2 separate regions of the Homo sapiens genome follow, and region 1 is linked to region 2. Evidence: promoter capture Hi-C in 16 types of primary human blood cells and fetal thymus (Javierre and others, 2016). All regions are on one chromosome and are shown on one strand. The core of a region is centred on a gene start or on the middle of the fragment in contact, and the rest is flanking DNA. Distances in the headings are between cores, read along the strand shown. Region 1 has its middle 19 kb from the start of IL1A. Region 2 holds the start of IL1B (interleukin 1 beta).

Region 1 (2,700 bases), core at 183-2,682, 34 kb before region 2:
TCCCAGAGCTTGTTTCTTAAGCCCCTTGTGGAGCTGATTGCTTTCCTCAAGGCAGCTCAGTTTTTCCCAGTTTGCTCCTGGTGGTCCTGAAATATGATTGACTCCTGAATACTCCAGGTGTGAAGGAGAGTGGGGGTGGCCTTTCTACTTGTCATGGCCTGGGTTTTAAGTTGCTGTCCAGTGGAGCAGAGGTGACTTTCCCAGTGAACTACATTTTTTCCCCTCTAAATCCTTAGCAATTTTGTCTCCAGAGGCAAGACCTGGCCAAACCATTTGTGTTGAGGATTGAATCAAGAATGATTGAGGAGATGACAGTAGTCCCCCCTCATCTGAGGAGGGCATGTTCCAAGCCCCTCAGTGAATGCCTGAAACTGTGGATAGTACCCAACTCTATATGTCTATGATTTTCCTATAAATTAATACATGCCTGTGACAATGTTTAATTTATAAATTAGGCAAAGAGGCCAGGCGCAGTGGCTCAAGCCTGTAATCCCAGCACTTTAGGAGGCTGAGGCCTCACCTGAGGTCAGGAGTTCGAGACCAGCCTGACCAACATGGAGAAACCCCGCCTCTACTAAAAATACAAAATTAGCTGGGCATGGTGGCAGGCGCCTGTAATCCCAGCTACTCGGGAGGCTGAGGCAGGAGAATCACTTGAACCCGGGAGGCGGGATTTGCGGTGAGCTGAGATCGTCTCATTGCACTACAGCCTGGGCAACAAGAGTGAAACTCCGACTCAAAAAAAAAAAAAAATTAGGCAAAGAAAGAAATTAACAACAATAAGTAATGAAATAGAACAATTCTAACAATATACTATAATAAAAGTTGTATGAATGTGGTCTCTTTCTCAAAATTACCTTTTTTTTTTGAGACAGGGTCTCACTTTATTGCCCAGGCTGGAGTGCAGTGGCACGATCACAGCTTACTGCTGCCTCGACCTCCTGGGACCAAGTGATCCTCCCACTTTAGCCTCCTGAGTAGCTGGGACCACAGGCATGCACCACTGTATCTGGATAATTTTGTTTATTTTTTTTTGCAGAGAGAGGAGGTCTCACTATGTTTCCCAGGCTGGTTTTGAATGCCTGGGCCCAAGGGATCCTCCTGCCTTGGCCTCCCAAAGTATTGGGATTACAAGCGTGAGCCACCATGCCTGCCCCAAAATTATCTTATTGTTCTATACCCACTCTTCTTCTTGTGATGATGTGAGGTGATCCATTGCCTCCTTGATGAGATGAAGTGAGGTGACTGATGTGGGCATAGTGATGCAGTGTTTAGGCTGATATTGGCCTGATGATATGTCAGAAGGAGGGTCATCTGCTTCGGTGATCCTGGATCATAGAGTCATGATGATGTCAATGGTTGGATGTCAGGAGCAGACGATGTCAATGACTAACGATAAGCTGGACAGGTGGGATGGTGGCACAAGATTTTATCACGCTACTCAGAATGGAGCACAATTTAAAACTTCTGAATTGTTTATTTTTGGAATTTTTCATTAATATTTTTGGATTGCAGTTGACTGTGGGTAACTGAAACTGTGGAATGTGAGACTGTGGAAAAGTGAGGGAGTACTGTATTATGGAACTGTAACTCTATTCGGTAGGGGAACAGAATTCACATTTGTGGGGCCCAGGTCTCTGCATCTGTAGGGATCCAGTTGTTTCATTTCTCGTTGTAGCAAGAACTTGGCTTTGGAATCAGACAGATTGATGTTTTCTATCATTCTAAATGGGTGCAGCTACACTTTCCTCAGGAGGTAGTTCTGAAAATTTAACAAAATGTGAATTTCTTGGTAAAAAAAAAAAACCTCAAAAATATTCAGTTTCCTTTCCTTTGTGTCTGATGTACTCCATCAAATACTTGGAAATATGTTTCTCTCATAGAAATGTCATTGATCTTTGTAATTCTGATTATCCACAAACCTTGGGGATTAGCTGTTTCAATGTTCCTATTTTACAGATAAGAAAATGGAGCCTGTGGTAAGTTAAGTGAGTTACTCATGGCTACTTAACTAATATTTTACTAGGTGATAGGCCAGAGCTAGAGCCCAGGTCACCTTCTTATCAATGCTCTGCCTTGTCTCTGTGCCTTCCTGTCTGTCTGTATGTGTATGTGCCTGTTGACAGTAAGGCATAGTTTAACCCAGTAGAACTACCGGTTTGTAATGAATTCCACTTGTAAATGACTGACCATTCAAGGAACAAGTGTTTTTTCTATGCTTGACACCTGTTTTGGATGCCAAAAAGGATACAAATGTAACTTCAGACACTCTGGGCCTCATTTTGCACTCATTAGCATGTCCAAAATTAAAAAGACTGACCACACCAAATATTGGTGAGGATGTGGAAGAACGGGAACTTTCATACACTGCTGGTGGGGATGTAAAATGGTACAATCCCTTTGGGTAACAGTTTGACGGTTTCTTAAAAAGTTAGACATATATATTTACCATATGACTCAGCCCTTCCACTTCTAGGTCTTTACCCAAGAGAAATGAAATGCTGTGCTTTTACAAATGTCTATACAGGAATGTACATAGCAACCTTATTTGTCATTGCAAAAAACAGAGACAATTCAACGTTGTCAAGAGTGAATGGATGAGCAAGCTGTGGTCTGTCTATGCAATGGTATCCTACTCAGCAAGACAAAGAGATGGGCTAAGGATACGCACAGCCATAAGCATGAATCTTGACATAATTG
Region 2 (2,721 bases), core at 166-2,665:
CACCAACGTTAGTGAGTGACTGTGGTGATATGATGACCAAGTGGCCAGGTCAGCAAGTGGTGCAGCCTGTGTCTCACTGGAAGAGGTTAAAGTCTTTCTAAAACAAAATACCATGGCATCAAAGTGGCCCAGAACTCCCTTCTTTGAGCTTTCCCTGTGTTAGAGCCCTTCCTTGGGTTGGGAGTTAAACCCATAGTCTTACCTTCATCTGTTTAGGGCCATCAGCTTCAAAGAACAAGTCATCCTCATTGCCACTGTAATAAAAACAGGGACATGTCTCAATTATGTCTTCTAAACAGGTTTATTTTTCCTTCCCTGTGTACAAGACTTGACTGTTCATAAGAAACTGCAAACAGCCTGCCTCTCAAAGCTGCCTGAAACACCTGGCAAGTTTCACAGTGATATGCGCAGAACAGTCCAGAAGGCAGATTCTAGGCCTGGCAGGTGGGCACCCTGGGTGCTCCCTGTTGGATCTTGAGGCCTAACCTCTAGCCCAGCAGAGTCAGCTAAAATCTGAGCTCTCCCTCTCCCTCCAAGCCACACTTTGCAAAGGGATTCCTTGTATTGTGGGCTTGGAGTCTTTTCTCCCCATTTGCCTCTGCAGGAAGCCCTTGCAACAACACATCTGGATAGCCTCCAGGTCCCAAGGCTGGAGGGACTTGTAATGGGAAAGTAGTCTTTAAATCAGATTTACTTGGCACCCTGTTTGCCACTGAAAGAGGCAATTTAGGGGAAAAATCTGGTCTCCAAGCACAGATAACACTCTACTCTTGAAAGAGGAGACCTGCTCATGTTACTGGTCTCAGCGTCTCCACTGACCTGTAATAAGCCATCATTTCACTGGCGAGCTCAGGTACTTCTGCCATGGCTGCTTCAGACACCTGTGTAAAAAGGAGAAAATGAGTGACTTCCCCATGACGGCTACGTTCATGTGTGATTTCTCTCAGCATCCAGTGCATGGCAGTCATGCAAAGAAATGATCTCTGAGTAAATGAATGAATGTGTGAAAGAGAAGTCCTTTGGGTCTAGAGAAAAGCATTTGCTAAACCAAACCCCAACTAGCAATGTATTGGCTAGGAGAGCTGGAGCAGAGGCTTTGACACTAACCTTTAGGGTGTCAGCTGTTAGATAAGCAGTATCCATTCCCAGAATATTTCCCGAGTCATAAGCATTATATTACACCTGGCATTTTTGCAAAAAGCTGAGAGAGGGAGGCAGAGAGGGAAGGAGAGGGAGAGACAGAGAAAGAAAGAGAGAGAGAGAGAGAATATGCATACACACAAAGAGGCAGAGAGACAGAGAGACTCCCTTAGCACCTAGTTGTAAGGAAGATTAAAGTCATACTTGAGCAATGAAGATTGGCTGAAGAGAATCCCAGAGCAGCCTGTTGTGCCTTGTGCCTCGAAGAGGTTTGGTATCTGCCAGTTTCTCCCTCGCTGTTTTTATGGCTTTCAAAAGCAGAAGTAGGAGGCTGAGAAATTTCTCTGTTGAATACCTGATTTCACAATCAAGTTAAAGGAAAGGGGAAAAGAGTATTGGTGGAAGCTTCTTAGGGGAGGGGACTAATAAACTGAGATAATTCTCTGGTTCATGGAAGGGCAAGGAGTAGCAAACTATGACACATTTTGCAAATGTATCACCATGCAAATATGCATTGTTTTCCTGACAATCGTTGTGCAGTTGATGTCCACATTAAAATACTGGATTTTCCCACGTTAGAAGAATGTTTAAATTTAGTATATGTGGGACAAAGTGGAAGACACACAGATTTATACATGCACATACTTTTCTTCATTCACTTCTTTGTACTTAAGTTTAGGAATCTTCCCACTTACAGATGGATAAATGGGTACAATGAAGGGCCAATAGCCCTCCCTGTCTGTATTGAGGGTGTGGGTCTCTACCTTGGGTGCTGTTCTCTGCCTCAGGAGCTCTCTGTCAATTGCAGGAGCCTCTGAGGAGAAAATTGACCTTTCTTGGCTGGGGCAGAGAACATACGGTATGCAGGGTTCAGGCTCCTGACGGAGTTGGGGCAACCCTGGAGATAAGCTCACACAACCCTGCAAGACCAGGTGCTGTTACCCTAGCCAATCTCATGGATGAACCAGATCAATGCCAGATGAGCTCTGCCTAAAATGATTTTTTGGTGAACTCTGAAAAGTGGAATATTGTTTCTGTAAGAATATCCATCTGAGACTCTATCTCTTGGTAATACCAACCAAGAGTTATCAGTTTCTCTTTAACCGAGACACCAGCAAAGTGCCTGCTCCAGGGTACTGCCCAGGGGAGCCCTCCATTTGTAGAATGAATGAGAGTCCAGGTTATGAACAGTGCCTGGAGTGTAGGAACACCCTCCTTTGCCTCTTTGACAGGTCTGCATCATAACACTTTTTTTTTTTTTTTGAGACAGAGTCTCACTCTGTCGCCCAGGCTGGAGTGCAGTGGCACGATCTCGGCCCCCTGCAAGTTCCGCCTCCCGGGTTCACACCATTCTCCTGCCTCAGCCTCCCCAGCAGCTGGGACTACAGGCACCTGCCGCCACGCCCGGCTAATTTTTTGTATTTTTAGTAGAGACAGGGTTTCACCATGTTAGCCAGGATGGTCTCGATCTCCTGACCTTGTGATCTGCCCGCCTCGGCCTCCCAAAGTGTTGGGATTACAGGCGTGAGCCACCGTGTCCAGCCTGTAACACTTCTTATAGCACTGAGTTGAAACCTTGCT

What was found. Contacts are between HindIII fragments. The CHiCAGO score rates a contact against its expected background, and 5 or more counts as called.
Region 1: a fragment that was not itself captured here is called in contact with the fragment with the promoter of IL1B in region 2 in 4 of 17 cell types (M2 macrophages, monocytes, M1 macrophages and 1 more); the score reaches 6.7 in M2 macrophages.

What each region holds. Positions count from the first base shown.
Region 1 is chr2:112,801,844-112,804,543 of GRCh38, forward strand. No RefSeq gene overlaps it. Among named protein-coding and RNA genes, the nearest start is that of IL1A, 19 kb to the left of the region's middle. RefSeq lists an enhancer at 2,008-2,067. The HindIII fragment of the contact is 4,248 bases long and covers 1-2,700 here.
Region 2 is chr2:112,835,364-112,838,084 of GRCh38, forward strand. It overlaps IL1B (interleukin 1 beta), which reads right to left and starts at 1,416. Exons shown (of 7, transcript NM_000576.3): 1 at 1,345-1,416; 2 at 820-881; 3 at 203-254. The coding sequence starts at 866. The HindIII fragment of the contact is 1,771 bases long and covers 1-1,543 here.